Regions from separate parts of the Homo sapiens genome. Here all the other regions are linked to region 1. Evidence: promoter capture Hi-C in human tissues and cell types (Jung and others, 2019). All regions are on one chromosome and are shown on one strand. The core of a region is centred on a gene start or on the middle of the fragment in contact, and the rest is flanking DNA. Distances in the headings are between cores, read along the strand shown. Region 1 holds the start of KCNJ2 (potassium inwardly rectifying channel subfamily J member 2). Region 2 overlaps LINC01483 (long intergenic non-protein coding RNA 1483). Region 3 has its middle 440 kb from the start of KCNJ2. Region 4 overlaps LINC01483 (long intergenic non-protein coding RNA 1483). Region 5 has its middle 390 kb from the start of KCNJ2. Region 6 has its middle 370 kb from the start of KCNJ2. Region 7 overlaps LOC124904100 (a long non-coding RNA gene).

Region 1 (3,564 bases), core at 674-3,173:
TTTGGAAAATTCTTAGCCATCTACAGATGCACCAACTGAATCATAATAAAGAAGAGAAAATCTATAAATGATTAATTTCCTTTTTCTATTTAGGCTTAACATGTTTTAAGGGATAATTAAACTTTTGGCCTGTTTCTTAGAAGTCCAGGAGGAAGCATATTTCAGAAGAAGCTTATTGAACTGAGCGGTGAACTCATTCATTATCCTTTGGTTAATACAGAGTGAACTTGTCTACCCTCAGGTTCATTTAGCTTTAGGCTACAGCCTAGATTCTTAGACATCCGTCTATTTTACAGTATTAATTCAAGCTGTTTATAAATAACACATGACTAAATAGATGTTAAAGAAGACCTCCCTTGGGGCAGGCATTATTCCCACGTGCATGGCAACAGAGTTCGTAACAGGGCTTGGTGAACAGTATAATCTCAACACATTAACTGGGACCACATCGCCATTTGGCTATCAGAGCAGCCACACCGAGTGCATCATCTCTTGCACACCCTTTTAATTTAAGTACCTTGCTCAGTGCTAAGAAAAAAGGCACACTTGTTAAGGCAGGAGTAAGTGCGGATCTGCGAAACCTAAGCAAGCATATTTCACCAGCACCTCCTAGGGGCCACGTGTGGATATGAGGATGGGAGGTGGGGACTCGCACAGAACCTTTCCTTGAATTGTCAGTTTCACCTCTCCTACACACAAAAATCCACCCCGACTGCGCCGTCCACAATACCAGCTAGTTTGCTGAATTAGTTCAGCGACTCAAGGAGGCCTTACGAGGTTTAAATAAACTGCACAAAAGACACATTTGATCGCTCGAGAAAATAAACATTTAAAAAACTCAGTGGAAAGAAAGACTCCTAAAATATATCCTGTCCTTTAGGAGCAAAGCTTCGTTAGGACACCGAAGTACTCAGAAATAATAGGCACTTACTCTTCGGTTTACACACACACACACACACACACACACGGATTAGTTTATAAAGTTCCAGGATCCAGACCCGGTTAACACTGAAGTTGCTTTTTAGGGGTCTGCGCGCTCTCGCCTGGCTGCTGGGAAGGAGGGCTGGGAGGCGCTGAAGCGAGGGCAGATCTGAGTGTCTGTAGGAGTTGCTATTCCAAAAAAAATCATTACTCTCTAATTGTTCTGATTTTAGATCAGCAAAGCGTGCCGGGCGGTGGTGGAGAGACTGAGGGCGGACAAGGCGAGAGGGAACGAGCCGTCCACCCTTCGGAGAAGCCTAGGCGCCTTGTAAGTAATTCGCGAACAGTCGGGAGAACAAACAGCCAAGCGGCGCTGCAGTGGCCGCACTTGCGCGCGTCTCAATCCTGGGGGCTCTGCGCGCCCGCCCCAGTCCCTCGCCCCATTGACTCAGTGGCTTCTCCGGGCGCTGCAGCCTCCGCGGGGGGCTTCGAAGGGCCGAGGGGCTCCGGCAGAGAGGGAGTGGAGAGGGAGACGCGCCGGGACCGACGAACAATCCTGCCCCTGCGGCAAAGGTCTCTACCCGGCGCTGGCACCTCGCAGGCCCCTCGAGGAGCACGCAGGGCAAGCGGCCCAAGAGCGGGGGAACCGGGAAGTGTGTGGGGCTCCAGACGGAGTAGGAAGCTTTGCCCAAGGCCAGGCTGCAATCAGGCAGCCGCAACAGCCGGGCGCGGAGCTTCCCACCTGCTGCTGTCCCAGCTGGGCCGCAACTTCCTCCTCCCCGGCCCGGGCCCGACTCCCCGGCCGGGCTCCGAGGGTGGAGGGGGACGAGGCGGCGGCAGGTTCCCTCCGCTGGCAACGCCTCGCAGCATCCTCCCCTCCCCGCCGCGGTTCCCGGGGCCGGCCGCGCGGCCAGGCGCGCTGCGATTGGCCGGCAGCGGCCGGGGGCGGGGCCAGGAGAGCCGGTGTCGCACGGACCGCCTCAAAAGAGCCCAGGATATTGCAGAGCGCACTGGAGCCCTGGCCAGCGCGCAGCCTTCCCGGCGCCGGCGGGCTGGGTCTTGGGAATTCTGGTTTGCTTTGGCTCACTCGCTTTTTACAAACCACTGGATCTTACATGCCTCTGTACCCCCCACTTCCACTCCATGTCCCCATGCTCCTGCGCCAGCAACAGGTAAGGGCTGCTGTGTTTTCTTCCTTTTCGCTCGCTGCCGGTGTGTCCTGGGGAATGGACTCTGGCCGCCGTCCCCTACCCTACCCTGCCCCGCTGCTCCAGAGGTGCCCAGCTGTCACACTGCTGTAGCGCTCACCCACACTCCGGAGTCCCAGATCATGCCTATATAGTTTGTGTGCGCACCAGAACATCCCCAGAGCTAAAAATACTGAGACATGCTTGGAACAGTTGAGCAATAGAAACAGATTTCTCTGCAGCATCTGTTTGTGCTCATAACTTCCAATGCACCAGCTGTAGCGAGATACTGGGTTTGGAGGCAAGGGCGAGAGCGTCTGTGTTCGGTTCTCACTCTAAGTGGGGAAAAAAAGAAAGAAAACGTGGTTGCGGGTTTGGGGGTGCGTCTTGAGCCCTGGTCTTAAACCTTGGCAAAGCTTGGGACTCAGCACTATTCTTGATCCTTGGCTTTTTTTTTTTTTCGTCATTGCTTCAAGTATAGCTGTGAGTTTCAAACAGAGTGAGTGTCTCAAAGTTGCCTTCCTGAAAGAAGAGCGGGAGCCCGAGTTGGATTTGAGCCTGAGGATCGCAAAACTTTCACATTACATATCACTCTCCCCTAACCAATTTGTTATTTTCAGTAATAATGGTATTAATACCTGGCTTGAAGACAGTGTGGTTTTAGGAAAGCAAAATAGTCAAAACGACTTGATTCTGCAAAAAGATTGCATCATAGCGTGGATTCATCATGACAATTGGAAAAAAAATAGGGATAGGGAATGGGCAGTTTAATGTCTGTGTCTGGGTAAGGATATCATAGGATGATCACTAGGATAAAAGGCTGTGAATTCCGACGATTTTCATAAATTCAGATTTTACCTGTTAGGAAATAAGGTGTTATTTGAAAACCTCGGATATGCAAAGAAACCATATTGCGTTTTATCATTTGTTTTCTTTTCACATTAATAATCAATAGGCTGCCAGATTTCCTCTCGCCAACCAATGTTGTGTGTCTGCTGTACATTATCTGTACACTTGTTAGCGTTTTCCTGCTCACTTCCAAATGTTTCATTTCTATTTGCCATTATCTGGAAAAATCCTGGTGCTCAGAAGGGGTAAGAGATGTTAATTGAAGCATGGTGGAAAGGGTGAGGATAAGGTCAAGGCCATTTTACTTAGCTTCCTCCTCTCTCATATTTTAATGACACTTTATTTTTTAATGTTCTTGGTCTCCATAAGAAATATTTGATCTAAACTCATGTGAATTTTGCTTTTAAAAAAAATAAAAGAACACAGTCTTTCTACATCCTTTGGATTCCTGAGTTGTAGAATCTCTGGTTAGCTGTAGCGTCCTTGTATGACTTTTGCGTAGCCTGAAAGATTGAAAACAGCTACCTGCACAGATTAAGTGTTTCAGATTTTTTTAAGTGTATATTTTTATTTACCAAACATGTCTGTTTTTCAGCGTATGCAAATG
Region 2 (3,564 bases), core at 593-3,092, 450 kb before region 1:
TTTACGCCATTAACATTCAGGGAGATTCAATGCTGTGTTTGGTTAAAAAAAAAAAGTATTAATTTAAAAATATTCAGGTCAGCATGATTAAAATAGTCACAAGTTACTTCTATAGCTTTATCTGTTGTATTAGCTCTTTGCAGGCAGCTGCAACTTTGAACTGGTGAATGCTGTTTCTTAGTACAGTCATTCAGTGATGTGTTTTCAGGATCTGAATCAAAAGAACATTTTTCTGCAATCTACACAAACCTGTTTGGCACGTGCTCTTGTTTATGGAAAATCCAAATGTATATTTGTGTTCTTTTGGAAGGGGTGGGAGTTGGAAGGGAGCTCACACAGGAGATTAAGACTTTATCTTTCCACTCGGCAAGCTGAATTCTTAAAGTCCTATCTGATTTCATAAAGTAAGCAGAAGTTGGAGCTCAGTCTAGACTCTGGCTGACCAGCAGACAAAAGAAAGGTATACACTCAGCTGAGGGCCAGTAGCAGACTCTACTTGAAGGATGATCTGGAGTGGAAGAAGAAATCGGGCCACGATGAAGATGCCTTTTCCTTCACTGAGTAACTACCCTTTGCTGGTCACTTCATACATACTATCTCATTCATTTCTCGTTACTCCAAGAGGTAGCTATGACTATGAAAAGTACACAGATGAAACAGGCTCAGAGAGCTATTTGCCTGATATTCCACAGCTGAGAAATGGTAGCATCAGGACCACAATAACATGTAACACATCAAAATATATTTTTTATAATTTTCACTATGGAAAATCTCATATGCATAGAAGAGTTGAAAGCACATCACAATTAACTTTCCTGAACGCATCGCTGAGTTTCAAAAATTATTAACTCATAAACAATTCTATTCATCTCTACCAGCCTTACTCCAGTCCTTCCCCACATAGCAGATGCTATGATGTGTTATAGATAGCATATTTCATTATATATTTCCAAAAGAGAAATATTTGTTTAATGTATAGTGAAAACATCACTTTATACCTAAATTAAAACAATGATTTTTAAAAACTACCATCTAATATCCAGTTGGTGTCTGAATTTGTTTGATTATGGGGCTGTGATTTTAACACAGGTCTACACTAAGAGTTTGAGGTACAAGCGTGTGATAAGGTTGGTAGATGTAGTTGACCCCCTCTGAAAATCTTGCCACAACAATTTTGTCTTAAATTCTTCAAATAGAAACCTGCCTTTGGGTCCCTTGGGTCCCTCAGAAGCAAGTGCCTCATAGGTTTCTGTATTAGTCAGATTTCTCACTGCCATAAAGAAATACCTGAGACTGGGTAATATATAAAGAAAAGAGGTTTAATTGAGTCACAGTTCCACATGGCTGGGGAGGCCTCAGGAAACTTACAATCATGGCGGAAGAGGAAGAGGCACATCTTACATGGTGGTGGGTGAGAGAGAGTGAGCAGGGAAAACTGCCTTGTAAAACCATCAGATCTCGTGCGAACTCACTATCACAAGAACAGATGGGGGAAACCGTGCCCATGATCAAATCATCTCCCACCTGGTCCCTCCCTCAACATGTGGGGATTATGGAGATTACAATTCGAGATGAGATTTCGGTGGGGACACAGAGCCAAAGCATAACAGTTTCCATTCTGTGTTTAACAAGACAGATGTAACAAGTAAAGGACACTAGGAAAATATATGATTCAGCTCCTTGCCTCAGTCCCTCCAACAGATAATGGGTTTCTGGTGGAAGAGAAGAAGTGTGGTATGGAGAGGAAGGGTGACAAATCATTCCCCAGCTGTAAAAAGGTAGGCATTTTTACTCTAAGCCAGGAAATAATATAACTCATGATCACGTTGTTCTTGTCAACATGAAGTTAAGAAATGATTATGTAAAGGAATAAAACATGATCTGTGTTCTAGCTGTTTAGTTGGGTTTTATTGCCATTTCTAATAAAAGATTTCAGCTAAAGCATTAGATCAGTAGCCTTTGATTTCTAAACTTAGGTAGAAATCCAGTTTTGTTCTTTGATTCTCTTTCCGTGCATTCCTGGAATTCATGAGTTTTGCCCTGAACTTTCTGGAAGCAAGGGCTGAAGTCCGGACATGACTTTTCAATTAATACAAACCGTAGTCTCTGGTTCTCCTCGATGTTAGCATGTGACATGACTGGAGGCCTTTATTTTGCTTAGTGCAGTGACCAAGCAAATGAGTGCATGCTCCTGAATATTTAACAAGCGTGACAGCCTGTGTGGCTGGAGTTGCAGCTGGCTATGCTTAGCTTTTTAATCTAGGTGCTTTCTCAACTGATAATGCATGTTTTACCCCATTAGACTGGATTTTGTCACGTCACATCAGGAATGTGATTGTGCTTTTGGATTTCAGGCAGGGAAAAAGAGTTACACACAAGACCAGCTGTATAATTTGCAGGGCCTCGTGCTGGCCTTGTGTGCAACTATTCAAACATTAAGAATTTCAAGGAACCATCAGCAGAGCCCTTTTAAGATTGGAGACTTGTGTAGCACATATATGAAATTGACTCTGATCACAGAGCACATAGCATCCAGCTGGAAACGAACAGGTTAATCTTTGTGGTGCTTCTAAAATGGGGGAAAATAACAGAGAGCTGAGAGTTTAACTCAGTTTAGTTGCAGAGTTATAGATGACAAGCAAAGGGTCCAGTGATCCAAGACGGTCCAGGTGAGAGTAGTGAGAAAATGTCTCAGGTCTCCTGAGATTATTTTGACTAAGTTCATGAGCATGTTCCCCTAATCTATGTAGGTTAGACAGAGCAAGGTCAGCAGTTACCTGGTGGTAAATTAAAGCCCAGGTAACAAGTAAATACAAAGGCAAGATCAAAGCAAAGGCCCTGAGGGAGAGGACCTGTCTGAAAAGCAGAGGGAAAGTATATTCTTTTCACCCACCTCTCTCTCCTGCTTCCAGCCCCTTCAGCAGTTTTCCTTAGAGAGAAAAAAATGTTAACAGCCAAACAAAAGGCCCGAAGCAGATTTTTTTTTCACAGCCTGTGAGCTGATCTTGAACTTTCCAGGGGTTTGTGCTTCATAGAAAAAACATTTAGGCATTTCCTCCATGTTTTTGTATCTGGAAAGGGAGGCCTCTCTTTCCAAGTGTTGACTGACATCTTAGAGCTTATTTCTTTCCAGTTAAAGTGGAAAATATCAACTAAGATTTCAAAGAAAAGGAAATGTAATGTATTTTCTCATCAAATTTGGCATTATCTATTTGCCAGGCAGGCCTTTAATCTTCAGTGCAGTATTTTTCCATTGTATAATTCTGAGTTCGCCTTAAATCTGTCTCTTTCAACTTCGCTTTTCTAAAATACGAATGTGATTTGCCCAACTTATCTTCTTTTCTCATTTGTTTCCTCGATACTTTTGATTATCACTTGCTAGGGTTTCTCTAGAGAAGCTCACTATTTTGCCTCTGCAAATATTGAGTGTAACACAGATAAAGCTTCTTTGTTAGTGTGAATTCATTAATGACCTTGATAAAAAGAACTTTCCATGTCCAGCATGCTGGGAGGACTAAAATGATTTGGGGCCTGTTGATATGAACATACAAATAAGAAAAGTAC
Region 3 (3,564 bases), core at 503-3,002, 440 kb after region 1:
TTAGTATATATCATATATAATATGTATACTAATATATTAGTGTATATATCTTATATAATGATTATATGTTAGTATATATAAGTATATATTATATATATTAGTATATATATTAATATATATTATTAATTATCTTCTGCAAACCTTTCTAAGTTGCTGCATGGATTCTGTAATTCCGGACTTCTTTTCCCCTTTACTGTCAATCCTAAGGCAACAGGAATACTTAACAACAACAGTTATTTTGAAAGGATGCTTCTTGGCCCTTCTCGCTAACTGCTTAAATCATTCCTCTGTGTTAAGAAATGAAAAAAAAAATCCTTACTCAATTCCTGGTGGTTTCTAGTTGATTGACTTCTAATGAGCTATCTGGCATCAGCAGCTCCATGAGGCTGAAAAGATTTTTCCCATTCTCTGATTTAGGCCAGTCTTGCGTTCAGTTTGAACATTTTTGCATAGCTCATTCAATGCACGAAAATGAATATAGACCACAAAGAAATGTTCTTTAAAAACTATGTCAGAGACAAAGATGTCTTATATCATTTTTAATCCATCACTACAAATAAATATAAATGGGCTGGGCGTGGTGACTCATGCCTGTAATCCCAGCACTTTGGGAGGCCAAGGCAGGAGGATCACTTGAGGTCAGGAGTTTGAAACCAGTCTGGCTCGTTTCACCCTGAAACCCCATCTGTACCAAAAAATACAAAAAATTATCCAGGCGTGATGATGCATGCCTGTAGTCCCAGCTACTCAGGAGGCTGAGGCATGAGAATCACTTGAACCCAGGAAGTGGAGGCCGAAGTGAGCAGAGATCATGCCACTGCACTCCAGTCTGGGTGGCAGTGTGAGACCCTGTATAAAAAATAATTATGCGTGTGTGTGTGTGTGTGTGTGTGTGTGTATATATGTATATGTGTGTGTGTGTGTTTGTGTGTGTGTGGTAATTAACAACATACATAATACTTAACCAAGCCCCTTATTTTTTCCACTTTTACCACACAAGTTACTTGAAGAGAAATTGTTGTCATTTTTCATGATCATTTCCTCACCATAGGGAGTTAGAAGCATAAATAGACATTTGCAATAACCCCATCCTCCCAAACGTCCTCTTCTCCAGCTCCCAAGTTTCTTCTTTTGCTCTTTTCTTCCTGTTCCCTCTTTCCATTTCTCAATCTCTGTTTGAGTTAACATTAGCTTAGAAGAGCAATGGATTCTGAGACCTTCTACGCATTCTAGTTCGTTTTGTTACCAAATAAGTACTTAATTCGTTGAAAGAAAGAATCTGATTTCATTAATGAGGAAATAAAGTATGTGTTCAACCCAGGAACAAGAAAAGAACAAAAAATCAGCAAGATGGCTATAAGGGTAGGTTATAGAACCAGACAGGTGGCTTCAAATATGGGCCCCTTTCCTTTGCTAATGACGTGAACTTGGTTGACTTGTTCACACTCAAAAGACTCAATCTTTTCATCTGCCAAATGGGATTCATGTCAGTTTTCTAGGAAATCAGCAGGCTTAATAAATAGCATCCCTCTTTCCCATCCATGTTCTAAAAATGTTGAGAAAGTGTGAAAAAAAGAAGCAGATGGGGTCAAAATTTTCACCTTGATTCATGATAACTACTAAGTGAGATGATGTAGCTTAGTGTCTGAGCCAAATAAACCTACCAAGTAAATATGAGACTGAGACACTTAACCACCTGCACATGCCAGACCAGACCTGAAATGCAAAGACCACAAAGGTTACACATCGGGCATGGAGGTACGTCACCTACTGACTTTTTGATGGGAGAGGAGGAGAAGAAGAAGTAAATAAAAGAAAAAAGGAAGAGCTGAAGTCAGTACACCCAAATTATTGTCCTCAAATTTACTAGTTCGATGAATCATCTTATTACTTCTGGTAAAATAGTGATTAAAGGTTAGAAAAAGACAGAAGTGTTTATATCGGGGGAAACTTCAGGGGCTGGAAAGAACTATTCCCCCATAATTTTCCCCCAGGTTTCTGAGGTCTTAACCCTTTGTGTCTAGACATTGCACTCATCATCAGTCAATAAGCCGCTACCCACTCAGGGAAGGAGAGCAGCATTTTTTTTTACAACAGCCTTGTGTCCAGGTTCTTGTACTTTTCCAATACCAGCCATACCTCCACTGGGTTGTCTCCTAGACCTACAAGTGGCTGTTTTACATTTTGTTCCCAGAAGACTCTGGAATGAGTCACAATAAAATGTTAAATAAATGGACTCTAAGGTGGTATTTTACCCAAAGCTGAAAATTCATACCCTGATCTCTTTCTTAACCTCGAACTATGTCCAGCCATATTATTCAATGTAGCCTACTAGGGCACTGCAAAAAGTTTGAATGTAAACCTCATGAGTCAATAATAAAATTTCTCCCAACTAGGGATTCCAGAAAGAAGTTAATTCAAGTAGTCTTTTGCTTGTTAAAGTTTGTTTCTTATATATAATAGTCCAAAAGAACCCCCCATCGAATTCTTTTTTATTTGCAAATTACAGATAATTTTGCAAATGTAAGATTATATATATATATATGTATATGGTCATGTGCCACATAATGACGTTTCAGTCAAGGATGGACCACATGTATGAAAGTAGTCCCATAAGATTATAATGGAGCTGAAAAATTGCTATAGCCTGCTGACTTCTTAGCCTTTGTAGTCATATCACAATGCATTAGTCACATGTTTGTGGTGATGCTGGTATAAACACAACTATTGCTCTGCCAGTCTTACAAAAGTCTAGCACAGGCAACTATGTATAGTACATAATACTAGACTGTTATAATAAATTACTATGTTACTGGTTTATGTATTTACTGTGTTATATTTTTATGGTTATTTTAAAGTATACTCCTACTTACAAAAAATATGTTAACTGTAAAACAGCCTCAGGCAGGTCCTTGTAGGAGGGATTCCAGAAGAAGGCATTGTTATCATAGAAGATGACAGGTTCATGCATGTTATTGCCCCTGAAGACAGCGGGACAAGAGGTGAAGAAGAAAAACAGTGATATTGATGACCATGACTGTGTGTTGTCTCAGGCTACTGTGTGTGTTTGTGTTTTAGTCTTTAACAAAAATGTTTTAAAATTAAAAAATAAAATAAAAAGAAGAAAGTGTATAGAATAAGTACATAAAGAAGAAATATTTTTTGTACAGCTGTACAATGAGTGTTTTAAACTAAGCGTTATTACAAAAAAAGTCAAAAAGTTAAAAAACGTGAGAAAGTTTATAAAGTAAAAAAGTTACAGTAAGCTAAGGTTAATTTATTGTTGAAGAAAAATATTTTAAATACATTTAGTGTATCCTAAGTGTACAGTGTTTATAAAGTCTAAAGTAGTATACAGTAATCTCCTAGACCTTCACATTCACTACCACTCACTCACAGACTCACCCAAAGCAACTTCCAGTCCTGTAAGCTCCATTCATGGTATACCAGTGTGCTATACAGGTGTACTATATTTCATTTTTCATCGAGTATTTTTACTGTACCTTTTCTATATTTAGATACATAAATACCATTGTGTTACAATTACTGACAATATTCCTTGAA
Region 4 (3,564 bases), core at 514-3,013, 430 kb before region 1:
CTTACAAGTCAAATAGTTGATGGTGATGGAAAAAGTATACCTTACTGAATTCTTTAAGTAATATAAAATTCCCGTGGACAATTTTCAGCACCAAACACACTACTTGGCATTTAGCAGGTATTCAGTAAATATTCGAGGTGTGCATATTGTCTTTATTTTTCATTTCCTCCAGTTCACAGCCAGTAGTAAACAAGGGCATATTACAAATTGAGATCCAAGTTGGGTTAAGTACACAGGTAAGCACTGAAACATGCAAGAGTATTTGCAATAAGAAGCTCAAATTCTATTCCACCATGAATAATAAGCTGAATTCCAGTTGGCCAATCTCCATTCCTTCCCAAAAGTGTTGAACTGGTAACCTGCTCACCCTCATTCCTCTTGGAATTTACAGATGTGTGCCGGACAGTGTGGGAAACAGTGTTTTACAGCAGCAATTAGTTTATTCCTGGGGTAAACAGTAGAACTTTAGGGATAATTGCAGCAAGAAATTTGTTCCCTATTGCAGTGTGAATAACCTACAGGCAGCCAGTTGGCTGCTTGCCCTACAAATCCCAAAAAGGACATTGGCAACTGTTTTGCATTTGTGCCCAGTAGGGATTTGCAGATGCACAGTGGGGAGAGGAGAAAAGATGGGCTGTGTTTTTACCAATGTTTGCAAAGCCAAGGATGGCTTTCCAGGACAGGTTAATTCAGAAGCGGGAAATTTGGGTTTGTGTAAGGGGACAGCTTGCTTCTCTTTAAGATGGAAGCTGCAGCTCGAGTGCCAGTTGGCAGCTCCTGAGTCTGCTATAGGGCCAACACACATGCAGGCAGCAGAGTCACTTAATCCCTTTGACTTTGCTATTTCCTGCCTATGACTGTACTAAGCTTGTTGAAGCCTGAAGCAACATGTGACTATGAGATTGTGGGCAGCCAGGAGCCAGTCTTCCACAGCCTTGGACAAACTGACTGTACCACCCTCTACAATTTGCTTCCTAGCCAAGGTTGGCTATTTCCCCAAATTTCTCTTTCAGGTGTGGCATTATAGAGACCATTATTACTGTTGTTGCTGCATTTAAGAGAACACAGACACAATAGTTTCCAGCTTGCTTTTGTACATAGTTTCCCTAAATATGTTACTATCTCCAGTGCAGGCTCCAATTTGAAATGTCATCACAGGCAGCAGCAATGTCACATATTTTTATGGCATTTTCTCTTATGATCGTTGTGTAATTATACTTTAATATTTAGGTGTGGACATTAAGGAAGGGGTTATTTCTGTCATACAGAAGGGAAAAATTACTAGGAAAATACATAAAAAGTTAACTTTGTAGTTGATGTTGGAGATAGTGATTTCTATTACTACAGATCATTTAATCTTTCCTTGTGAGTGGGAGAAGTGCAGTCTTGCTTTATTAATTGCTAATAATTTTCCCATATAAACTCAGAGAACCTCAAAAGTGGTTACTGTGCCTTCTGTATCTCTTGCCTCCTAATTGATTTCCCTGCATCCGTCCCTGGGTCCCTTTCCCCTATCCTCAATCTGTTCTATATACATGGCAATTCTAATCATGACAAGCTTAAATTAATTTAATACTATCCTATTATCTTTGGGATAAAGATCACACGTGCTTCCTGAGGTCAGCCTTCTTAGCATGGCCGAAAAGGTCCTACCTGATTTGGCACCAGTATCATCTCTCAGGCACTCACAAACCCATTCTCCACAATTCAGTCTTTTCTGCTGGTCTTTTCTTCTGATTGTCTAATGCATGTGATTCTTCTTGCCACAAGACCATTGCACATTCCATTCCAGCTTCCTGGAATGCTCTTCCCACTGGTCTCTGTAAAAGTTAACTGCTTCTTATCCTTCAAATCTCAGCTCATGCTTACTCTCTTCCCTAATTTCCAGACTTACTCAGATTACCCTGTCACTCCCTCAAACAGCATCTGTAAATCTCCTTCTTAACTCTGATCACAATCTGTCATCCTACAAGATGACTTTGTAGGATGACTTTGTAGGGAGTACTTAGCTGATGCCTACTTTTCCTCCTCAATAAAGACAAGGACTCTATTTCCAGCACTATCATGACCCTGGTGGAGGAAGACCGTGGTGAACTCTATGCAAAGAAAGCATGAATCAAGTCAAGAAGGAGGTGCCAAATTTAAAGTTAAAAAGAAGCAGAATGAAAAGCAACTGAGGAAAACAATTCTAAAGGGGCTTTAAAGCAAACAAGTCAAGATCAGTATCAATTTTAGTTTGAAGGAGCTGATGGACAAGATGTGAATTTCCAGTGAAGCAGGCTCTGAACTTCATTTTGAAGTTAAAAATTGACTCGGGTTCAGAGACAGCATTAGAGAGGTAGGATCACTCATCTCCAAACAAAGGGCATTTTCTTTTATTTATATATATATATAAAACAGATATATAAATATATTATATATATTTAATAATATATATTTAATATTTATATGATATATATTATATATAATTTATATATTACATATATATTACATATATATACAAATATATATAAAATATATATATATATTACAAGTTATTGGGGTGCAGGTGGTATTTGGTTACATGAGTAAGTTCTTTAGTGGTGATTTGTGAGATTTTGGTGCATCCATCACCCAAGCAGTATATACTGCACTATGTTTGTAGTCTTTTATCCCTCGCCCCATCCCACTCTTCCCCCAAAGTCCATTGTATCATTCTTATGCCTTTGCATCCTCATAGCTTAGCTCCCACATATCAGTGAGGACATACAATGTTTGGTTTTCCATTCCTGAGTTATTTCACTTAGAATAATAGTCTCCAATCTCAGCCAGGTCGCTGTGAATGGCATTAATTCATTCCTTTTTATGGCTGAGTAGTATTCCATCATATAAATATACCACAATTTCTTTATCCACTCGTTGACTGATGGGCATTTGGGTTAGTCTGATGATTTTGTAATTACGAATTGTGCTGCTATAAACATGCATGTGCAAGTATCTTTTTGTATAATGACTTCTTTTCTTCTGGGTAGGCACCCAGTAGTAGGATTGCCAGATCAAATGGTTTTCTACTTTTCATTCTTTAAGGAATCTCCACACTGTTTTCCATAGGGGTAGTACTAGTTTACATTTCCACCAACAGTGTTGAAGTGTTCCCTGTTCACTGCATCCACACCAATATCTACTGTTTTTTGATTTTTTTATTATGCTCATTCTTGCAGGAGTAAGGTGATATTGCATTGTGGTTTTGAGTTGCATTTCCCTGATTATTAGTGATGTTGAGCATTTTTTTATGTTTGTTGGCCATTTGTATATCTTTTTTGAGAATTGTCTATTCATGTTCTTAGCCCACTTTTCAATGGGATTGTTTGTTTTTTTCTTACTAGTTTGTTTGAGTTCATTGTAGATTCTCAATATTAGTCTTTTGTCAGATGTATAGATTGTGATTTTCTCTCACTTTGTGGGTTGTCTGTTTACTCTGCTGACTGTTCCATTTGCCGTGCAAAAGTTCTTTAGTTTAGTTAAGTCTCAGCTATTTATCTCTTCTTTTTTTTGGCATTTGCTTTTGGGTTCTTGGTCATGAAA
Region 5 (3,564 bases), core at 542-3,041, 390 kb after region 1:
ACATGTTCTCCCCAATCTGGTTAGAGATCTCTCCTACTTCCTCCCAAAGCACCATGTGTTTCCTTCAGCTTAGCAGTTACCACATTCCTTGGTAAGTACTAATCAATTTGTATGTTTACCGGACTCAGACTGTGACGACAAGGACCTTATTTATCCCCACTGTAAAGTCTTGTGCCTGGAATACAACCGAATCTGAATATCTGTTTTCTGTATAACTAATTCTATCATGGATGAGATTTTTATAATTATTAATGTGATGTTTCTTCTTTTGCTATTTTATTTATAAGGCTTTTTGTCTTTATGAATGTACAATTGGGACCTCTGTTTGTGTGAGAAAATTAAGATTTATTATATAAAGTATTCATGAAAAATGCTGCATGTTAGAATATTAATTCATCTTCTAACATGCAGTATGTGAGTATGTGTGTTTATACTGTATATGTATTCTTTATGCAGATATAGAAAGTAAGCTAATATTGACTTCCCTCTTTTTTGTCATTATAAGGTTTTATAGGAAACCAAGTGTTTTCTCAAGAAAAACTAAGAATCACCTTAAAAATTAGTTTGAGTTACCCAATTGTATATTAGTTATATTATTTTACTCTGCTACCCATGAGGCAAGGTTAAAGACAGAAGGCTAGATAAGTGATTCACAAAAATAAAGATAATAGAATATATATATAATATATATATACATCTCCAAGTTGTACTGTGAGTTTAAATATATGACCCACTTACTAATCAATCAATGGAGAAAAGCTATGACATATTTTTAAGGTGACATGTTAGAGGTATTTCATGAATATTTGAGATTTGATAAGACACACATATTAGGTATTAGCTAAGTATTCCTAATTATTAATGTAAACTAGACTAGAATGTGCATTAGAAAGAGTAGTAGATATATTGTCACAAAAGCTGAGTGCGAAAAGCAACACCAGCAACTTCCAGGGTGATGCCGAATATATTATTGCAGGCTTGAGTTCCCTCATCTCTAAAATAAAAGAATTGGAACAGCTGATTCATATGTTAGGCTAATATTCTATGCTCTTCCCTGAACTGAAAAGCCTCTTTAAAAGTTTTTTTAATGTAATGATTTAGCTATAATACTGCCTTTAAAAAGGGATTGACAGAGGAAGCATTTGAATTTCAATCTGGCCTTACATGCATTTCTTTTGAAAAGTCATTAGAAATGTCTTTAGAAAGGTACTATGTGTTTTTAAGGGCAACATATTAGTTATTGTAGTTTTTGAGCACATTTCCATAACACATGTGTTGTGGGGTGTTACCACCACCCCAATCAAAACATAAAATGTTTCCATCTTCTCATAACCTTTCCTCTCACTACATTTGGTCAATCCTCTTGTACTCTATCACCATGGATGAATTTTATCTATTTTAGAACTTCATATAAATTGATTCATGTAGTATGTTCTCTTTTGTCTCATACTTCCCTCATTCAAAATAATGTCTTTGAGAATTAGTTTGTGTTATTTGCCTATCAGTTGCTTGTATGTTTTTTAATTTTTATTTTTCAACTTAGTAGTCTTCCATTGTATACATATACCACAATTTATTTCTCCATTCACTTGTTGATAAACATTTAGTTTTTTTTTCTGATATTTGGTAATTATAAATAAAAATGCTAGAAAAATTCTTGAACAAGTTTTTTTGGGAGACACATGTTTTTATTCTTCTAGGATAAACATCTGAGAGTGGAATTGTTGAGTCATGGACTTAACACATTTTTAAAATAAAATTTTAAAGTAAAAATAATTTAAAAAAGAAAAGATCTTTCATGAATTTAGTAGTTTATTTCTGAGTGTAATCGACTTCATTATTTTGGCCTTTTTTTTGATGGGGGGGTGGTGGCTGGAGACTTGCCTAACTTATGGGAATCTGGAATTGCCCTTGGCATTGCATGTGGCAACACAATGGTACAGAAGCTTTTGTGAAAGTTTTTGTTTCCATGAATGATGGGAACTGCCAAAATTGAGAATTATGCACTCTGAGTGAACTTTCACATAGCTTAGGTTGGCATCACCAAGTGAGAAGCCCAGGACTTAAAAAATAAGGTAAAACAAGACAGGAGGTTTTTGTTTTGTTTTTCCTAGACTATGGCTCAAGGACCACCTGAACGGAAATCCCCTGGGTAGCTGATTAGGCATACTTTTTTTTTTTTTTTTTTTCGAGATGGAGTCTTGCTGTGTCACCCAGGTTGAGTGCAATGGCATGATCTCAGTTCACTGTAACTTCTGCCTCCTGGGTTCAAGCGATTCTCGTGCCTCAGCCTCCCGCGTAGCTGGGATTACAGGCACCCGCCACCAAGCCCGGCTAATGTTTGTATTTTTATTTTAGTAGAGATAGGGTTCTGCCATGCTGGCCAGGCTGGCCTGGAACTCCTGACCTCAGGTGATCTGCTCACCTCGGCCTCCCAAAGTGCTGGGATCACAGGCATGAGCTACCATGCCCGGCCTAGACGCACTTTTTAACAAGCATGTAAGAGACTCTTACACATAGTGAAATGTAAGAATTGCTAGATCAATCTAAACCAGAGATCCTCTGCTGTGGCGGCACATTTGCATCACCAAGGGAGCTTTCAAAATTGCCATGCCCTTGACATGCCTAAGACCAATTAAGTCAGGATCTCTAGGCATGACCACCAGATATCAGTATTATTTAAGTCTCCCCAAGTAGTTACAATGAGTAGCCAAGGATGAGATCTTCTGGTCTATTCTATGTCATCCTTAGCACATCTGAGAGCTCCACTGCCTGCATGTCTGATGTTTTGTTGTACAACTACGTCATTCTGACAATATTTCAAAGCATTGAAAGAACATTTATTTCCTTTGTACAAAATGCCTTGAGCAAGCAAGATTGTCTCAGGTGCATTTGCCGTAATTGCTTGCCTTGGTCTTATTACCTTGTGAAAAATTATGTATCTTTAATCTATGCTTTGGGTGGCAAAATTAATTAATAATTAACTTTGTACTTACCTAATAAAATAATGTTGATGTAAAGTCCTCTAAGTAGTCCTCTCACTTACTAATTTTATCTATGTATTGGCATGAATATCTTGGTTGAACCAAAGAAATAAAACCTAAAATATATGCCTCACAAAAATGTGCTTTATTTAAGTAGATTCAATGAATGAGATATCAGCTCTCCTCAAATCATTATAATGTACCTGTAAGTAACGAACTTTCATAATGTATTTAATCTATAAAAATGATTCTATATGCAGCTTTTCAGGAATGCATGCATATATTTCAGAAAGTAAAATTCCCTTTTTTTCCAGGGGAAGACTTACTAAGATATTCCACTTGAATGTATGAAGTACTTGATAAAGTGCATTTCTGCTTTACATGGTTGGAATTCTACTTTAGTGCTAACCTTGCATTTTTAAATTTTGCTAATAGAGACCATATAAAAATTCACCTGCAAAGCAACTTAAAGAATGTTCTTATTTATTATTTGTAAATGTGGCATCCTTTACCTATCATGCACACCCTGCAACATCTCCCCCAATTAAATAGATTTTGTTCTTCAATGAAGTACAATAGT
Region 6 (3,564 bases), core at 424-2,923, 370 kb after region 1:
AAGATATGAGTCTCCAAAATAGCAGAGGGGAATGTTTTACTTAAAAAATGTGTGTGAGATCACTGTACATAAAGTTATTCACATGATAATGGATACAGAACTCCATTGATGAAAAACGTTAGGAATTTTCTCATATATTTAAATGTTTGATAAGTTATTTTCTTTATTTTGGTGACCAGAATGCACACAAATGGTTGCATAATTTATGTAGATATATGCAAAAGCTCTGCCAACAGGTACTTGTGGGAGAATCAAAGTCTGCTCTATCCATGCATTCCTTTTACATTCCTTTTACTTCCACCTCCACTTCTTATTTCTTTCTTTTTTTTTTTTTTTTTTTTTTTGGAGACGGAGTCTCACTCTGTTACCCAGGCTGGAGTGCAGTGGCACAATCTTGGCTCACTGCAACCTCCACCTCTCCACCTCCCGGGTTCAAGCAATTCTCCTGCCTCCGCCTCCCGAGTAGCTGGGACGACAGGCCCACGCTGCCACACCCGGCTAATTTTTTGTATTTTAGTAGAGATGGGTTTTCACCGTGTTGCCCAGGCTGGTCTCCCAAAGTGCTAGGATTATGGGCATGAGCCACTGTGCCCGGCCTCACCTCCACTTCTTAACAAGTACTCTATGCTCTAAGTTCATTATTTTCTCCCACTGGGCTCCCTTTGCTATTGTACTTCTACTCAGTTATTGCTCCCGTTTTTATTATCTGCCTCCTTATTCTTCTTGTAACCGAAGCATTCTCTCTGTAGGTCCAAAATAAAGTCCAAGGACTAGCAGACACTTTCCTTTTCAGGACACAATATGTTATCTCATCCCTGGAATACCTAGGATACATCGCACACTCCGTGCACGGTGTGTGTGTGTGTGTGTGTGTGTGTCTGTGGTCTGCGTGTGTATGCTTCTTTGTTATGCATTGTTAATTTCTTTCACTACAAGTATTTTAAGTTTTTTGAACAAAAAGAACTATATTTCAATAATAGTTATCATCTACTGAACATCTGAGAGTAGCAACAAATGTTAGAGTGAACATTGTAAAATAATTAAAAGGACCAAATTACACTTTCTTACCTGCCTTTTTTTTTTTTTTTTTTTTGAGATGGAGTCACTCTGTTGCCCAGGCTGGAGTACAGTGGCGTGATATCGGCTCACTGCAGCCTCTGCCTCCTGGGTTCAAGCAATTCTCTTGCCTCAGCCTCCCAAGTAGCTGGGATTACAGACCACGCACCACCACACCTGGCTAATTTTTTTTTTTGTATTTTTAGTAGAGACAGGGTTTTGCCATTTTTTCTGTAATATTGAGTAGACATCTGGCCCATTCACATACCTAATAGTAAATGTTATAATGTAAAAAAAAAAAAAAAAAAATACTAGTTTCTACAAATATTGTCTCTTTTACTTTTATAGCCAGAGAATCACTTTCTTATAGTTAGATATGGTATTGTAACTAGTTCTGGCTAATGGAATGTAAGCAAAGTGTTATGTGCAACATTTTTTCAAAGGTTTAGGGCAAGATCTTCATCCTTTATGGCTGGGGTACAATCAATCATTTCGGACCAGAAATGAACATGGGATCTGCATGGCTTCATATTATCAGCCATGGACAATATCATTTGAGAAAAGGATTGTTAAAAATTAATCATAGAAACAAACAAAATTTTATTCTATTTTGTTTAAGCCACTGTTAGTTTGGGTTTCTGAGATTCACTGCTGAATGTTATTCTGATACCTCCACTTCAACCTACGATGTGTAATTCCCAGTTTACCTGGGACAGTCCTGAATTACAGTGATGTCTTGTAATTTTTCTGCTACTTCCCAGGACCCTCAAAAGTACCTGGCTTAGGTGATATGTTATATAGTGATGCTTCTTAATTCTCTAGACTCCGAATGTTATTAGCTACAGCAACATTTATCGAAGTAACATTTTTCCTAGGAGTTTAAATGTAAAACAGCTAAAGACAAAGTTACTCTGGGTCAGACATGTCTGGAAGAGCTACAGTTCTCCCTAATACCTACAGACCACAAACTGGGCCTGAACTGGTATCTATATATGTGTGTGTTGGTGGGGGTGATATCTATTTATTCATTTGTTTATTTTTTTTCCACTGGATAGGAATTTCTAACAATTAAAATATGTTATTGTTCTTAGAGCTAAACATAATGATAAATGTAAGGGAGACATAAGGAAGATCCTACATATAGTTTTTGTTTGTTTGTTTGTTTGTTTGAGACAGAGTCTCACTCTGTTGTGCAGGCTGGAGTGCAATGGTGTGATTTTGGCTCACTGCAGCCTCTGCCTCCCAGGCTCAAGCAATTCTCCTGTCTCAGTCTCCTGAATAGCTGGGATTACAGGTGCGCACTGCCCTGCCCGAATAATTTTTTGTATTTTTAGTAGAGCCAGGGGCTTCACCGTGTTCCCCAGGCTGGTCTTGAACTCCTGAGCTCAGGCAATCCACCCGCCTTGATCTCCAAAAGTGCTAGGAGTACAAGCATGAGCCACCGCACCTGGCCCCTGGTGTATAGTTTTAGAGACTCCTTTTCAATTGTGTCAGAAGTGTTTGAACCAGAGCAACTCCATCTTGAGTAGGGGCTAGGTAAAATGAGGCAGAAATCTACTAGGCTGCATTCCCAGATGCTTAGGCATTCTAAATGATGGATGGGATAGGAGATCGGCACAAGATACAGTTCATAAAGACCTTGCTGATAAAACAGGTTGCAATTAAGAACCTGGCTAAAACCCACCAAAACCAAAATGGTCACGAGAGTGACCTCTGGTCATCCTCACTGCTACACTCCCACCAGTGCTGTGACAGTTTACACATGCCAAGGCAACATCAGGAAGTTACCCTATATGGTCTAAAAAGGGGAGGCATGAATACTCCACCCCTTGTTTAGCATGTCATCAAGGAATAACCATAAAAATAAGAAACCAGCAGCCCTTGGGTCTGCTGTGTCTATGGAGTAGCCATTCTTTTATTCCTTTACTTTCTTAATAAACTTGCGTTCACTTTACTCTCTGGATTCTCCCTGAATTCGTCTTTCTTGAGCGAAAGCCAAGACCCTCTCTTGGGATCTGGATTGGGACCCCTTTCCTGTAACAATTGTGTCCTATTACATTCAGCCAATTTAGCAAATTGATTTATGATTCTTACATATCCATAGGATAAGTATGTGGATTATCTTCATTTTGTTACTGATGAGAAAATGGACACTTAAAGAAATTCAGTGACTTTCCAGGGTTACATACCATCTGACTAAATGGCAAAACTGAAATCAAGCCCAAATACACTCTACCTCCTCTCACAAATTTTGGAAACATTTAATCCAATCCTTAAATCAACAGAGGATCAAACTGAGGCGCAGGGATTGCTGAAATAGACAAGGAGTAACAAAGTTTGCCCCGTTAGAGCCAAATGATGAGCTTCTGGCCTTTTGAAAAGTTTAGTTGTAAAATAGTCCCTATGAGTAGGAAGGAAGACACATTTTTATTTAGTTTTATGTAAATGGTGCGAGACAAATTCAGCCTTGCCTAAGGCAACTGAAAAACCATCTTTGAGTGAATTATT
Region 7 (3,564 bases), core at 733-3,232, 330 kb after region 1:
GTTTATCTGTGAAAGATTGTGTCTCAGTCCTAGTCTAGGCATTGTTTTCATTTTCACATTTTTTAAAGGTCTTACTATTTTTCGAAGTCATGTTTTTATCCTCTGCCAAATAACAGGCCTGTTGTTGTTTTACTCAGTTTTCTCTTTATAATTGCAGAAACTTTGAAAATAAAAAGGGTAATTATTTTCTGATGTCTAACAAGTGATTGACATACTACAAGAAAAATGAAAAATACTTTTTAAAAAAACTTTATAGACCGGAGATGGGATTTCAGAATCAAACGTGCTTGTGGATTTGGTTTTCATTGATGGGTTTTGCTCTTAGATTGTCCTTTTTCCACTCACAGTTCCAGGATTTCTTTCCAAAAATATCTTGTGAGGTCCAAATGGTAGCCAGAATTCTGTCTTTGTTTGATGAGCCTGTACATTTCTTAATCCAACACTTCTCTTGAAAAAGAAATACAGAAAGTATACTGTAGTTAATGGTAGTGGGGTATCCTACATTTTGTGGGGAAAATGGGAAGCTTGCCTGTCTGTTACTCTTTTTCATCCCTTGGCTGAAAGAAAAACAATCTAAACCCAAAGAACAAAAGAGAGCTTAGGAATCAGAACTTAGACCTGGGCTCTGGAGCCAGACTACTTCTTAGCTTTTTTTCCTGTGTGTCATTTTGTTTTTATACTATGTAAGTATATTTGTAAATAATAATCCAAGACTTTCAAAAGTACAGCAGTTCTGTAAAACAAATGTTCCTACAGTCAAAACATAACTTTCTCTTTTTATTGAGTAAGGCTCTGTGCACATCTGCTTATCAGCAGTCACTTTCTCAATGTTAGTTTCAAATGTACTCTGCGCCTTCTGTCTTTTCATCTGCACTGAATGCCTGTGTGTTCCTACGTTCTTAACTTCTGCATTATTTTCCTGTACTTCCTCCTCTATTTTTTTCTAAGAATGTAGTTGTTTGTAGTTAATGGTGCTTATAATTTGGAAACTCAAAATAGTAATATTGCTGATCAGCAACTAATTACTCTGAAGCTTGAAAAGTTTAATTAAATCACACATTCCTTGGAGGGTCCTGAGTCCTGGCTACTTACTTTCAAAGAGGCTCCTTGCTCCCTGCTGAGCTGATGGGATTTCAGTGACAACCTTCACTAAGCCTGAACTTATTGAATGCCTACACTGAATGTAATACTGCATGAGTAATTGAGGATGGTACCAAGTTATAGCTCATTGTCCTTATGCACCTGAATCTTATAGTCTTATAAACCTTCCCAGGGGTTGGGTAGAAGGAAGACTTATTCAGTTCAAGAGTGCATCATCATAATAATACAAAGAAGGAAGAGAAGGAGAAAAATAAATGTGGATTCTAATTCTGGAGAAATTTTTAGGAAAAAATATTCCTGAGGTCTGAGATAAACAAGGAGGTCTTCATTTACGAGTTGAAATTCCAAAAAGACATCAAAGGGAGGATGAGATTTGCATAGGAAAAGGAATAGAAATCATGTTAGTCCCATAGTTCATGTATCCACCTTCTCCTCTCTGTATTCAATCTACAAATATTTATTGCTATTATGTGCAGATCAGAAAACAAAGTCCTCACCCTAGGGAATCAGCAACAAAACTTATTGAGAATGCAAAGAAGAAAAACTGTTATATGCTAGAATTAAAGAAGTACAAAGATTTCTGAGAGCATAGAGAAAGAAGTAGACAGAAAACTTGCAGAAGACTTAATACTGAATATTTGAGGCAAGAGGAACCATGTGACTGAAACTATGTTTATTTAAAATATAAATTAAAGAACCAAGGCACAATTGCAGAACTTATGTGGAGTCAAAGATAATGAGAAAATCTTGGTTTTATTTTTGGTGCAGTAATTTTTTTAAGTGTTGAAAATTTTGTTAACGTTAAAGAGCTTTGCACTTACAAGACACTAAGATACAGGAGTGATGCTTCATAAAGAAGTTACCTGTCAGGGTTTGGGCATTAGTTTAGAAGTTGTGGAGCTTTGATTTATTTTGGTTAAATACTTTAAGAAATCACAATCTTGATCCAGGACTGATAAAAGTATTGCTAAATTTGAAAGATGCCTCTTCAAGATTAGAGTCATATATTCAGACATAGAACATTAGAAGATCCTGTATGGAAAATACATTCTAGTCTATTCTTACTAGTGGAAGAGCCCTAAGCCACAGTTCCCATTCATCGAGGTTCAATGCATCAAGTACTTCTCGAAGTGCACTTACATTTAGTAGCTGATTAAATTTTTCTGACAACAGAATTATTGTTACTATTATTTTTATCATCATCATCCCATTTTTATAAATCAGAAAGGGAACTGGGCCAGAGGGTAGTTAAGCAGTTTTCTTAAAGACTTACAGCTATTAGGTTGGTGCAAAAGCAATTGCGGTTTTGCCATTAGTAATTGCTTTGCCATTACTATGGTATTTTATTTTGCTGTTACTAATGCAAAAATCACAATTACTTTTGCACCAAACTAATGCTGATTTTGAGAGCCAGACCTGGAGTGTGGGGATACTAGAGCTAGTGCTTGAGTTCTAAGTTGTTCTGCTGCAACGGCTTGGACTTGAAAGCAGAGAGGAGGGGAGGAGGAGCAAAAAGACAGAGATCTCACCTTTGTGGCAGAGATAGAAGAAAGATAATATTTAGAAGTTTAGCTGTGCATTAAGAATGTCGTAGCCTCCTTTTTTCATTTTCTAAAGAAACTTGAAATTAAGATTTGAATTGCTTCCAAATATAAATGTGCTAGACAATTGTATTCCTGAAAGACAAGAAATGCTGAGTCCAAAGAATAACTGAGAAGTTCAGCTTTTATGATTTCTGTGTCCTGTAATTAGCTGCTTAGTAAGTGATTTCTAACCTTCAAGAAATATAGACCCTCCAATGACTGACAACTGTTAAAGTATGTGTTCTTAAAAAGTTAAATTGTTACATATACAGTAAACACATATAAAAGATTTCATTCTACTCATTAATTAATGATGAAAATACTAAAAGGTTAAAACTGGTTCAAATGAGAACGTGATTCGTGGAATGCATATTTTCTAACAGAGAAAGTTAATTTGCATTGCAATGAACAGGAAACATTTGCATTGCTTCTGATTTCCCACAGCTTAACTTCTACCCCTTCAAAATGGTCAAATAGCTAATAATGGCAAATCAATCACACATGCACACCTTTGTAGAATCAGACAATCCCTAGGGAGGGGCCTCAAGACAATGCCCAGATCTCCACTGAAAGGGCACCCAGTAGTCTCTCATGCCCACCTATTTCCAAGACCTGGAAAATTTTTCTGACATCATAAGACTCTTAACAATTAGACTAAATTACAGGAAGAAAGGATAAGAAGAAACTAAACTACTATGAAGACTATATAGCTATAGACCAGCACATATATTATTGGGGAAAAAAAAAGTGTAACAAAGTTTTATTTAAAATGTTGGTCTTAAACCATTATGTTCTACAATATTGAGCTGTGGTTTTTAGATCTAAGACAACTTCCCTTCCCCCATGTATCATCCAGCTCTGATTTTTTTTTTAATCTCTC

Evidence for each region. The method cuts DNA at HindIII sites, captures the fragments that hold promoters and counts their contacts. A contact is called where the count stands out against the background at its distance.
Region 2: a contact is called between a fragment that was not itself captured here and the fragment with the promoter of KCNJ2 in region 1, in 1 of the 25 tissues and cell types used here (heart left ventricle).
Region 3: a contact is called between a fragment that was not itself captured here and the fragment with the promoter of KCNJ2 in region 1, in 1 of the 25 tissues and cell types used here (dorsolateral prefrontal cortex).
Region 4: a fragment that was not itself captured here is called in contact with the fragment with the promoter of KCNJ2 in region 1 in 1 of the 25 tissues and cell types used here (psoas muscle).
Region 5: a contact is called between a fragment that was not itself captured here and the fragment with the promoter of KCNJ2 in region 1, in 1 of the 25 tissues and cell types used here (dorsolateral prefrontal cortex).
Region 6: a fragment that was not itself captured here is called in contact with the fragment with the promoter of KCNJ2 in region 1 in 1 of the 25 tissues and cell types used here (dorsolateral prefrontal cortex).
Region 7: a fragment that was not itself captured here is called in contact with the fragment with the promoter of KCNJ2 in region 1 in 1 of the 25 tissues and cell types used here (hippocampus).

What each region holds. Positions count from the first base shown.
Region 1 is chr17:70,167,609-70,171,172 of GRCh38, forward strand. KCNJ2 (potassium inwardly rectifying channel subfamily J member 2) reads left to right here and starts at 1,924. Exons shown (of 2, transcript NM_000891.3): 1 at 1,924-2,093. KCNJ2-AS1 (KCNJ2 antisense RNA 1) reads right to left here and starts at 1,794. Exons shown (of 1, transcript NR_036534.1): 1 at 1-1,794. RefSeq lists a silencer at 1,520-1,979. The HindIII fragment of the contact is 1,534 bases long and covers 530-2,063 here.
Region 2 is chr17:69,714,581-69,718,144 of GRCh38, forward strand. The region is part of intron 3 of LINC01483 (long intergenic non-protein coding RNA 1483); the gene reads left to right. Among named protein-coding and RNA genes, the nearest start is that of LINC01483, 120 kb to the left of the region's middle. The HindIII fragment of the contact is 5,314 bases long and covers 1-3,564 here.
Region 3 is chr17:70,611,189-70,614,752 of GRCh38, forward strand. No RefSeq gene overlaps it. Among named protein-coding and RNA genes, the nearest start is that of KCNJ2, 440 kb to the left of the region's middle. The HindIII fragment of the contact is 7,463 bases long and covers 1-3,564 here.
Region 4 is chr17:69,733,023-69,736,586 of GRCh38, forward strand. All of the region lies in intron 3 of LINC01483 (long intergenic non-protein coding RNA 1483), which reads left to right. Among named protein-coding and RNA genes, the nearest start is that of LINC01483, 140 kb to the left of the region's middle. The HindIII fragment of the contact is 5,215 bases long and covers 1-3,564 here.
Region 5 is chr17:70,558,947-70,562,510 of GRCh38, forward strand. No RefSeq gene overlaps it. Among named protein-coding and RNA genes, the nearest start is that of KCNJ2, 390 kb to the left of the region's middle. The HindIII fragment of the contact is 5,665 bases long and covers 1-3,564 here.
Region 6 is chr17:70,539,468-70,543,031 of GRCh38, forward strand. No RefSeq gene overlaps it. Among named protein-coding and RNA genes, the nearest start is that of KCNJ2, 370 kb to the left of the region's middle. The HindIII fragment of the contact is 4,875 bases long and covers 1-3,564 here.
Region 7 is chr17:70,498,462-70,502,025 of GRCh38, forward strand. All of the region lies in intron 1 of LOC124904100 (a long non-coding RNA gene), which reads left to right. Among named protein-coding and RNA genes, the nearest start is that of KCNJ2, 330 kb to the left of the region's middle. The HindIII fragment of the contact is 3,774 bases long and covers 96-3,564 here.